Linked DNA regions of Homo sapiens: regions 1, 2 and 4 are each linked to region 3. The links are contacts of gene promoters, found by promoter capture Hi-C in human tissues and cell types (Jung and others, 2019). All regions are on one chromosome and are shown on one strand. Each heading gives the region's core, a stretch centred on a gene start or on the middle of the fragment in contact. The rest is flanking DNA. Distances are from core to core; before and after follow the strand shown. Region 1 has its middle 130 kb from the start of OTOR. Region 2 has its middle 210 kb from the start of OTOR. Region 3 holds the start of PCSK2 (proprotein convertase subtilisin/kexin type 2). Region 4 has its middle 75 kb from the start of OTOR.

Evidence for each region. The method cuts DNA at HindIII sites, captures the fragments that hold promoters and counts their contacts. A contact is called where the count stands out against the background at its distance.
Region 1: a fragment that was not itself captured here is called in contact with the fragment with the promoter of PCSK2 in region 3 in 3 of the 25 tissues and cell types used here (dorsolateral prefrontal cortex, mesenchymal stem cells and mesendoderm cells).
Region 2: a fragment that was not itself captured here is called in contact with the fragment with the promoter of PCSK2 in region 3 in 2 of the 25 tissues and cell types used here (dorsolateral prefrontal cortex and lymphoblastoid cells).
Region 4: a contact is called between a fragment that was not itself captured here and the fragment with the promoter of PCSK2 in region 3, in 4 of the 25 tissues and cell types used here (H1 embryonic stem cells, dorsolateral prefrontal cortex, heart right ventricle and 1 more).

The regions. Positions count from the first base shown.
Region 1 is chr20:16,873,811-16,876,599 of GRCh38, reverse strand. No RefSeq gene overlaps it. Among named protein-coding and RNA genes, the nearest start is that of OTOR, 130 kb to the right of the region's middle. The HindIII fragment of the contact is 3,241 bases long and covers 1-2,789 here.
Region 2 is chr20:16,952,528-16,955,308 of GRCh38, reverse strand. No RefSeq gene overlaps it. Among named protein-coding and RNA genes, the nearest start is that of OTOR, 210 kb to the right of the region's middle. The HindIII fragment of the contact is 9,535 bases long and covers 1-2,781 here.
Region 3 is chr20:17,225,724-17,228,704 of GRCh38, reverse strand. PCSK2 (proprotein convertase subtilisin/kexin type 2) reads right to left here and starts at 1,665. Exons shown (of 12, transcript NM_002594.5): 1 at 1,223-1,665. The coding sequence starts at 1,399. The HindIII fragment of the contact is 16,215 bases long and covers 1-2,981 here.
Region 4 is chr20:16,821,650-16,824,694 of GRCh38, reverse strand. No RefSeq gene overlaps it. Among named protein-coding and RNA genes, the nearest start is that of OTOR, 75 kb to the right of the region's middle. The HindIII fragment of the contact is 4,833 bases long and covers 1-3,045 here.

The sequences.
Region 1 (2,789 bases), core at 73-2,572, 350 kb after region 3:
AATGTTTCAAAGTTTAAATAGCAGATTTAGGGCTATTTGCAGTACTACCCTACATCTTTTACTGGAATATTCAAAGCTGCAAAGTCAGTAAAGAACTTGGCTTCCCAGGTAAACTTGTGAGTTAGCTGTGTAGAGAATCGGGCTATCAGAAGTGACAAGTGGAATATTGGGGAAATTTCCTTTCTTTTAATCATGTGAAGTTGTCAATGCAGAACAAATGAGAACTTACTTTGGTAAAATGATTTGGAAGAACTGCCTCACTCTCTATGTCTTTTAAGGTTTGAAAATAACATGAGACTAGACACCCCCTTTGCCCCTACACTTGGCAATGTAAGAATGGTCTGCATCCAACTCCAACAAATATAGCAGTCTCCTGTTTCCTACAGTATCAACCACATGGCAATTTTTCCTGGAAAGTGAACAAACAGGTGCTTTATTTGACACATAGAGCAACGTCTGTATTTCTTTTGATCAGCGTAGTCCTTAGCAAGCAGCCCTTGTTTTTAATCCATTTGAAACACTGACTAAAAGAGGAAGGTGGAGAGATTAGGAGGTGTCATCCTCTGGTTTATGAAAGGGAGAGTCAGACCGGGTGCAGCGGCTCATGCCTGTAATCCCAGCACTTTGGGAGGCCAAGGAAGGTAGATCACCTGAGGTCAGGAGTTCGAGACCAGCCTGGCCAAGAAGGTGAAACCCGGCCTCCACTAAAAATCCAAAAATTAGCTGAGTGTGGTGGTGGGCACCTGTAGTCCCAGCTACTCAGTAGGCTGAGGTAGGAGAATCATTTGAACCTGAGAGGAGAGGTTGTAGTAAGCTGAGATCACTCCACTGCACTCCAGCCTGGATGAAAGAGTGAGACTCTGTCTCAAAAATGAGAAGAGAGAGTCAAAAAATAGTTGCATCAATCAAATGAAAGAAAGTTTGAATGGATGTCAACAGCTAAGAAGAATAATGGGGGGGGATCGGCCATATCAATCATGAATGTAAATGTTGTCTTTTCATTTTCAAGACACAAATATACTGTTACTCTGCTACTACAGATCTTATGTTCTGTTAATATAGATTTTTAATTACACAATAATAAATAAAAACACTGTTCTTATAAGGTTCAAACACTACAGGCACTCATATATATTAAAAACAAACTGGCCGGGTGCGGTGGCTCACGCCTGTAATCCCAGCACTTTGGGAAGCCAAGGCAGGCAGATCACAAGGTCAGGAGTTTGAGACCAGCCTGGCCAAAATAGTGAAACCCTGTCTTTACTAAAAATACAAAAAATTAGCCGGGCATGGTGGCAGGTGCCTGTAATCCCAGCTACTCAGGAGGCTCAGGCAGGAGAATCGCTTGAACCTGGGAGGCAGAGGTTGTAGTGAGCCGAGATTGCACTCCAGCCTGGGTGGCAGAGCGAGATTCCGTCTCAAAAAAAAAAAAAAACCATCAAGTCCTAATTTATACCTTCATTTTTATTCTTCTTTCTGAAGATAAATATTGCCAATATTTTGGTATATTTGGTATGTTGACAATTTAATTTCAATGCATTTAACCATACATGTAATCAGGGTGAGATCTCCCTCATTGTCTTTAATAGCGGCATGTGATTAAATATCACAGATATGGCATAGTCTATTTAGCCACTCTTTCACTGATGACGGTTTAAGTTGTCTCCAATACTTATACCATGAACAACAACAAATGAACATTTGTTGAACAAAATTTTTAAACACAAATGCAAAGATTTATTATTTTTTAAACATTTATTTATTTCTATAATATAAGTAAGACATGGATATATATTCTCAAAATGCATAATCAAAGCTCATCTTAATCCTAATACCCTCTGTAAAGGTAACTGCTATTATTTTGATGTGAATCTTTCCAGAACTTCTGGACCCCATTTACACATGTACAACTGTATATAGCTAGGCATAGCTTTGTTTTGTGTGAAGAATTGCTTGTCATTTATGATAATATATTGCTAGACAATCTTCATAGCTCCCTTAACTGCAGGTGTGGTGATTTTTCTGTGTACAAGTGTATCTACCCCATTTATTGTCACTGTTGCATAATATTTCATTGAGTCTCAACACCAATTTTTTTAATCATTTGCCTATAAATAGACTTTTAATTATCTACTGTGTTGGATACATAGTGTATATTTCAATACATATTATATTCAGTACACCAAATACAGATGCTCCTCAACGTACACTGGGGTTACTTCTGATAAACCTGTCACAAATTGAAAATACTTTAAGTCAAAAGTGCAGTTAATACACCTAATATACCGAATATCATAGCTTAGTCTAGCTTACCTTAAGCAAGCTCAGAACATTTACATTAGCCTACTGTTGGGCAAAATCATCTAACACAAAGCTTATTTTATAATAAAGTATTGAACGTCTCATGTAAGTTAGTGAATACTGTACTGAAAGTCAAAACAGAATAGTTATATGGGTACCAATCATAACATTAGAAAATTGTAAATTGAACCATCTTAAATCAGGGACTGTCTGTATATATTTATATGTGTGTATGTGAGTGTGTGTGTATGTTAGTTCTTATTGCCTGTGGTTTAAAATTTATTTTCTTTCACTGGGGGTATATTTTATTTTATTTTATTTTATTTGTGGATGGATAATATAGATACATGGTTCAGAATTTAAAAAGCAGAAGCATGTAAGGTGAAAATTAAGTCTCTCTCACACCCCTTTGCCCAGTCACCTGGTTGCCTCCCCAGAGGTAACCACTGTTACCAGCTCCTTGTGGGTTCTTCTAGAGATCTCTGTAT
Region 2 (2,781 bases), core at 209-2,708, 270 kb after region 3:
AAACCCACTTCTGAAGGGACCATTTCTAGGATCCACATTAATATATTAAAGTTCTAAAAACACCACATCACTTTAGTAAGAGCTATCCAGCATTTATTCACTTGCTGCCAGTTTTCTTGGAATTTTCCTAGCTTGACTCAAAATATTCATGCAAACCAAGCCAAAAAGGAAGAGAAGGCAAAGGAAAACACAGTAGTTCTTTTTTTAATTTTTATTTTTTTCTACCTGAACAATGATAGTTTTTAAGGACAGCATTTCTCACAGAATGGAAACAAATTAGAGCTAAAATTCCTGGTTATCTTCATTCAACTCTTCTTTTGATCTAGCAGAGAAACTAAAAACAAGATAAATGATGTGACCTACCCAAGGTCACACAGCTGAGACTAAGCCCACATTTCTGGACTCCTAGTTCTCAACATATAAGTCTATGGATGTTTTCCAAAGGGAGCACCACGAAACGAATTTTTCAAGATATCAGAAGGTGGTTTTGGGGAGAAGGGGAAATGGGGAGTCAGGTTCTATGGTCAAACATATTTGGGAAATGCTAGTTTATTTTGTTTTGTTTTGTTTTATAGCATGGGTTCCCAGAAATTTAACTATGCTATATTGTTGGGACACAGTCAGGAAAGCAGCAATAACTGTAGATTTCTAGCATAAAAATATTTAATGCGGAAGATTGGGAGCTTACAACTCTATTGGAAGGGCCTGAAGTCGCAAAGATCAGGTAAAGCCACCATTAGATCCAAAGAGCACCACAGTTAGGAAGCTGCTGTCGCTATCACTACTGTCTCCAGACCTGAGGTGACTAATGTTCAGGGGAATGTCTGGAAAGGACTAGAAAACATTGCATCTCACAAATCTCAGATTTACTCCTGCCACTTGCTGGAGAAACAACAGTAGCTCTCTCCCTTTTGCCTTTTACTTTTCATGTAAGTGCTTCTCCATTGGCAGCGTCTAGTCTGAACTCTGTTCCCTCTGGAATCTTAGTAATGTAGTTATCAGGCTTCTAGACCCTAGAATGCAGTAGCGATCACAGGAGGGAGTGGTCTATTTTGTTTATTGTTGCTTTTGGAAATGTTATCTTCACCCAATTTGAGGTACCCACCAGAAGCCTGTCAGTTCCCTTCCTTGAGCAACTGATTAAGCATTTTCCTTATTGGGCTCTCACGCTGCAGACCACTATGCACTCACCCAATTAGCCTGGGGCCAGACCCCAGACAATTAGGGACAGTCTCTATGTACTGAGTCCACAAAATTATTCAAATTAGTCAATTCACAGGAAGCCTGTGAAACCCGGCTTGCCATACACCAGACATAAATTGCTCTCTGCATCTTGCAACTCCCCGTGTGGCCCTGCGTGGCAGCCTTCTCTCCTTCAGAGATGTAAGTAACTAAGAGTTCTGCCCTTCATTTAGTTGAGTATCTTTGTTTTGTGCCCACCATTAAAGAATTTTTGGATTTTATAAAGCAGGGGGCAGGAATGGAGCAGAGTTACCAAAATCAATCTAGTGCAGCTAATAATGTGTATTGAAGCTCTCCAGTGGAGATACAGTATTTAGTGTTTCCTGAACTTTTTTAACCACATGTCTTCATTTTTAGAGGTAACACTTACTGATGATACATGTCAAAAGGTATCAAGGTTTCATGAAACTCATTTTGGGCATTATTGTTTTAAATTATAATTTCAAGGGTTCATATACTTTGAAGGCCCTGTGACCCAAAAGGAAGCAGGATTGGTGATGTAGTGGCCTGGGCTATGTTATCAGGGCATTCATGATCACCACTGGATTATAGTGTAATCCATAGTACAGTTGCCATTGTACTATGGATTACACTGTACATAAAGATTGTTATTCTGCCTAGATAGTTCCAGCTGGTGGATTTGTACAGGACTTCCTGAACTCATATTTCTATAATCAAAGCCATCCTCATCTTTGTCTCCTATCCAAATCCTAGTTGATTATCAATATCCAACTCAAGTCCTTTCTTTTCAACAGGAAATTCAATGATTAGCTCAGCTTTCTCTCATCTCTTCATTCTCTGAAATCTTGACACGCTGTCAGCACTTGTCACAAATCTGCCTGTGACATCTCTTGTACTACTTTCCCTGCTCTATTTAACAGCTCTTTTGTGTCATTCTCTTATCCCCAACTGCATTGTAATCTCAAAGGAAGCTTGGATGCTGCTGGGCACCTCCTAAAACCTTTAGACAATGCTAAGCACATAATGGGTACACAGATAATTGTGGGAGGGATAAATTAATTAGTTGGCCACTTCAGTTTCTAATACAAGGATTTTCTATTGTTGTTTTATGTTGTTTTAGAATTTTAGTTGAAGCAGGACCTAGCTTGCATGTGGATATATTTGTTCATGCAGATGAGAGCAAAAGCAGAGTTCCATAAAAACTACTATTATCAAGTGGTAGAAGTGATTTTCCTTATGTAACATTTCTTAGCTATTTTGGTGTTCTTAAACCATGAAGAGCAATGTGACACTTATAAAGTCCTAAGTGACTTTCTTCCTTCCAAGAATTATTTCAGGCTTGGGTTCCCAGCAATTCAGAAGCAATTTCTATTTCTGCCATGTTCATACTTTGCATCTTCATAGCCTTTAAACTTTTTTTAAATGTATATGGTCTATTTGTCTTCCAACAATGATTCTTATGATCTGGGTAAAGCTAACACAATAGTATTGTCCTTATTTAACCATTGAAGAAACTGAGGGGCAGAGATCCCATCTAGTAGGTGGCAAAATCGAGACTTGAAACAAAATCTTCTGCCT
Region 3 (2,981 bases), core at 416-2,915:
CTTGGGAAGTCAGGACAGAAGAGACTAATAAGAGCTTCGGTCTGCGCGGCCCTTCAAGGCAAAACCAATAACCAAAAGCACCCACCGCTCATCTCACTCCTCTCTCTTCCTGGGATCAGGAGCGAGATGGAGCCTAAAATCTCAGGGACCTCCACCCAGCCCTCTGGTAGCCACATCTCTGTCCTTTGGGTTCCCCTCGCCCCACCTTCTCTCTGCACCCACACTCCACCCCAGCCTGCGCCAGGTCCCCTAAGGACACTGGAGAACCCTGATACATCTTTTGCAGGAGAGACACGCAGGTCAGCCACAGCCCCCACCCAGCGCCCTTCTCTCTGTCCTCCCAGGATGAGTACCCTGGAGTCTCCAAAGGAGATCCAAGGTGTCCAAAGCTGGGAGGCTCACCTATCTGCTCAAACTGTCGAACTCTGGCAACTTCTTGGAATGGGGATCCCCACGCTCTAGTGGGAAAGCCAGGCTGGCCGCCCACGCATCAGGAGAGGACACCTCGACTTCTCCGTAGGGAATCCCCCTCAAAATCCACCTCTCCAGCTCCTGTAGCCGGGAGTTGAGAACTAGGGAGCCAACCAGAAGTGCGCTCCAGGGGTGGGCGGTCGTGGGCGGGGGTGAGGGCGCAGAAGTTCCGCCCCGATTTTAGAGACCAGTTTCTTTCCAAATCTAGAGTCAGGAAGCCGTTGTTCCCGGAGAGGAGCAGGGACCGAAGTCCCTGGGAGGGAAGTCCTCCCGGCGCGGGGTGGGAGAAACACCGAGGTGAATTGCAGTGTCCAAACGTCCAGCCTCGTCTGTAGGAAACTATTCTTTCTCCGGGGGATGGGGGTGGGGGAGACTTCCCTGGCCAAGTAGCCAACGCCAGGCTTAGCTGTTCAGGGCTTCATCCCTCCATCCCCAGGCAGCCTCGAGAACTTGGTACCTCGGACAGCATCCCCGGAGCATGGCATCCTGTGAAAGGTGTTATCCTATTTTCGCCATCAAGTCAAAGAGCAGTAAATTATTTTGATGACCTTACTAGTACAGATGAAGGACATTTTAATTACATAACCGGTGAAAGATCACCGGAGGCAATATCGTGTTAAAGAGCCCATGGCAGAATATCTGCATCGCATGAGAAAGAGAGAAAACTTGCAAATCTGCAATGAGATTGCGCAGGGCTGCCCCCCCGTCCCCCCGTTTTGAAACAACATGCGAAATGCATGGGAGAGCTTACCTTTCGGACTCCAAAGCCGTGTTCTGCTGCAACTTGGCGAGCTTTGTCCTCTCCCCCTTTATGCAACTCCACAAGAAAATGATTCGTGAAGACCGGTCGCTCAGCAGATGCAAAAACCATGACACAGAAGAGGAACCCGGCGGCCGCCTTCCACTGGGAGACACAACCACCCTTCATCCTTCTTTGGGAGTGAAAAGTGGTGCTAGGAGGCGCGCAGGCTGGCGGAGCAGGGGACTCGGAGGGAGGGTGCAAATAAAGAATTCTTATATATAGTTTTTAAAAAAATCTTTGTATAGAGAAAGAGACTGAACAGGGTCTTGGAAAGCAGCGAATCAGTGTGTGTTCTCCAGCATCTGGCTGGAGGGGAAGCCGTGCAGTCAGGCGGCCCGGCGCGCGGGCAGGGGTGCGAATGTGGGGAGCTGTGTGTACCGGAGAGAAAGAGCGAGTGTAGGTCTGTGCTTGATGCTAAATCTGCATTTTCAGCTCCTCCTCAGCTCCAATTCCCTAGGGGCTGGGGGAGAGCACCAGCTCGGGTGACGTGAGTCCGCCAGCGGCCAATGAGGGCGGGGGAAGCGGCGGGCCCCGCCCTGGGCCGCCCCGGGCCCGCCCCCGCCCACCCCCGGCCCGGCCCGGCCCGGCCGCCTCCGCCTTCTGGGGGCGCAGCGCAGCGCAGCGCAGCGCAGCGAGCCCGCGCCCCCGCCCCTTTCAGCACCGGAGAGCTCCCCCATCTCAGCCTGGCCCGCCGCGCGCCCAGGAAAATCCCCCCAGCTGTAATCAGGCCAGCGGCGGCGGAGTGATGTCATTGTTTGTGGGAATCTGTAGGCTCTGGGAAGGGAATTACGGTGTGTGCCGCTCTCAGAGGCCCCGAGGGGAGCAGGGGCGCCGGCCTCTGTGCCTCTTCCTGCTTGTTTCCCGCTGCAAAAACACCTCTCTCTCTCTCTCTCTCTCTTTCTCTCTCTCTCAAACACACACACACACACCCAAGGCATACTTGCCTCCCCTTATCCGAATAACAAAGCAAATATTAACCCTCCTCCCACCACTTTGGGCAAATCCCCGGGGAGGTTTGCTCTCCTTGGCACCAGGAGGGTTGGGGAAAGCACCTTCTAGGGGTGATCCATGGGGGGCGAGAGTGCAAGGACGAGCCCTTGTTTTTTGTAGGCTCCAGGCAGGTCCGGAGCGAAGCGGCTGGGAAGCCCAGCAGGAGACCCGGCTCGCCCCACCCGCGATGGTGACTGGAGGAGGCTCCTCTAGGAGTCCTGGCTGCACCTCCAAGATCTGCCTTCAGGAGAGACGCGGCCGGGGTGGACACGGCGGGAGGTGCATTCTCAGACCTGGGGACGTTCCACTGCACAAGGACAGCGAGGGTGCTAGTTGGGGAACGCATAGCCACCGATCCCAGGCGCCGGGCCAAGTCGCCCGCTGAACGTCTTCTACTGGAGGCGAATTCGGGCGCAGCGACGGGGGGCAGGGGCAACTAAGTTATCCGGTTAAGAAACGTGCACTCGCACTGGACTCTGCTAACTGCTGACGACGGACTCCGCTTCTTGCCTGAGAGGGAGGAAGCACGAACGTTCTGTATGTAACGAAATGAGGACGACTGTTTCAAAGCTACTCAAATATTGTTGTGTTAAAGAGTATTTACACTGATCTCATTGTATCATTTAGCTTCAAAGCTCAAAATTCTGCTTTACTTAGATAAGAGGTAAGAGATCTTTTCTTAGGGGCTTAAGTGCATGCAATTCAGAGAGAGAGGAAG
Region 4 (3,045 bases), core at 23-2,522, 400 kb after region 3:
GAATCACACTTATTGATTTACATATGTTGAACCAACCTTGCATCCCAGAAATGATCATGGTAAATTAACTTTGTGATGTGCTGCTGGATTTAGTTTGCTAGTATTTTGTTAAGAATTTCTGTGACTATGTTTATCAGGGATATTGGCTTGTAGTTTTCTTTTTCCATTGTGTGTTTTCCAGGTATTGGCATCAGGGTGATGCTGGCTTTGTAAAATGAGTTATGGAGGATCCCCTTCTCCTTGATTTTTGAAATAGTTTTAGTAGAATTGACACCAGCTCTTCTTTGTATGTCTGGCAGAATTCAGCTGTAAATCCATCCAGTAGGGAGTTTTTTTTGGCTAGTAGTTTTTTTTTTACTACTGATTCCATTTTGGAACTCAATATTGGTCTGTTCAAGGTTTCAATTTCTTCCTAATTCAATATTGGGACATTGTGTGATTCCAGGAATTGATTCATTTCCTCTAAATTTTCTATTTTGTGTGCATAAAGGTGTTCATAATAGTCTCTGATTTTTATTATATTTCTGTAGGATTGGCTGCAATGTCACCTTTGTTATTTCTTCATTTCTGATTATGCTTATTTGGATCTTCTCTCCTTTTTTTGTTAATCCAGCTAGAGATCTATTGATCTTGTTTATCCTTTCAAAACCAACTTTGGATTTTGGTGATTCTTTGTATGGATGTTTGGGTCTCAATTTCACTCAATTCAGCTTTAGTTTTAGTTATTTATTTTTTTCTGCTAGGATTGGGATTAGTTTGTTCTTGTTTTTCTAGTTCATCTAGGTATAATGTAAGACCATTAATTTGAGATCTTTCTAAGTTTTTGAGGTAGACGTTTAGCACTATAAACTTTCCTCTTAACAATACTTTTGCTGCATCCCAGAGGTTTTGGCATGCTGTGTCTCTGTTTTCATTTATTTTAAAGATATTTTTTATTTTTGCATTAATTTTGTTATTTACCAAAAGTCATTCAGAAGCAAGTTGTTTAATTTCCATGTAATTGTGTGGTTTTGATTTTCCTGTTATTGACTTTTATTTTTATTCCACTGTGGTCTGAGAGTATGGTCAGTATAATTTCTATTTTTTTTTAATTTACTGGGACTTGCTTTACGGTCAATCTTGGAATATGTTCCATGTGCATGTGAGAAGCATGTGTATTCTGTGGTTGAGGAGTGGAGTATTCTGTCAATATCTATTAGGTTCAATTATTCAGGTGTTGAATTTAAGTCCAGAATTTTATTATTAGTTTTCTACATCAAAGATCTAACACTGCCAGTGGGGTGTTGAAGTCTCCCATTATTATTGTGTGGCTTTCTAAGTCTTTTCACAAGTCTGGAAGTACTTGTTTTATGAATCTGGGTGCTCCAATGTTGGGTGTGTGTGTGTATTTAGGATAGTTAAGTTTGCCGAATTGAACTCTTTATCTTTGTGTAATAATACCTTTTGTCCTTTTTTACTGTTGTTAGTTTAATTGCTGTTTCATCTGAAATAAGAATAACAATGTCTGCTCTTGTTCGTTTTCCATTTGCATGATAGATCTTTCTCCAGCCCTTTACTTTGAGCCTATTGGTGTCATTACATGTGAGATATGTCTCTTGAACACAGCAAACAGATGGATCTTGTTTTTTATCCAACTTGCCTCTCTGTGCCTTTTAAGTGGGGCATTTAAACCATTTACTTCAAGTTTAATACTGATATATGATTTTTTTTATCCTAACATGAAATTGTTAGATGGTTGCTTTATGGTTTCTATTGTATGGTTGCTTTGTAGGGTCTGTGAGTTATATACTTAAGTGTGTTTTTGTGATAGCACATATCATTCTTTTGTTTCCATGTTTAGAAATCACTTAAGGATCTCTTATAAGGCTGATCCAGTGGTAACAAATTCCCTTAGCACTTGATTGCCTGCAGAAGATTTTATTTCTCCTTCACATATGAAGCTTAGTTTAGTGCGATATGAAATTCTTGGTTGGAATTTTTTTCTTTAAGAATACTGACAATAGGCCCTCAATCTCTCCTTGCTTGTAAGGTTTCTGCTGAGAAGTTCATTGTTAGCCTAATGCAGTTCCCATTGTGTTTTATCTGCCCTTTTTCTCTAGCTACATTCAAGATTTTTTCTTTAGCATTGACCTCGGACAGTCTGGTAACTATATGCTTTGGTAATGTTCACTTTGTATGGTATCTCACAGGTGTTCTATGGATTTCTTGTATCTAGATTTTTATCTCTCTATAGCAAGATTAAGGAAATTTTCTTGTATTATTCTTTCAAATATGTTTTCTAGGTTGTTTACTTTTTCTCCTTCTCTCTCAGAGACAATTCATAGGTTTGGTCACTTTACATAATCCCATATTTCTCAAAGACTTCGTTTTTAAAAATTCTTTTTTTTCCATTTTTGTCTGACTCAGTTGAAAGACTGCTCTTCAAGCTCAGAAATTCTTTCTTCTGCTTGTTTATCGATAAATTCTTTCTTCTGCTAGTGTATTCATAAAGCTTCTAATTGTATCTTGAAATTCTTTAAGTGAGCTTTTTAATTTCAGAAGCTCTGGCTGATTTCTTTTTAAGGTGTTTATCTCTTCCTCCATTTCCTGGATTTTAGAGGTTTCTTTGTGTTGATTTTCAACATTGTCATAGATCTCATGGAGCTTCCTTGCAATTCATGCTTTGAATTCTTTACCTGTCATCTCTAAGTTTCCACTTTGGTTAGGGACCGTTGTTGGAGGGCTAGTGGCATCCTTTGGTGGTGCCATTTCATTCAGATTTTTCATGGTGCTAGAATTCTTGAGCTGGTTCCTTCTCATCTGGAGATGCTGGTATTCTAATTTTTGTAATTATTTTGGCACAGGTAGGACTTTTTCTTTTATTTCCTATATTTTTTTTTATTTCCCTTTACTTTAACCCCCCACCCCCGACCAGGGGCTGTGACTGTAGAGAATGCTGGATAGGGTCTTTTTTTCTGCTTCTATAGCCCCGTGGATTTCTTTTGGCAGGTTTTATATCAGGCTGTGCAGTTCAGCTTACCAGCCAGTAGATGGCGTTCCTGGGTA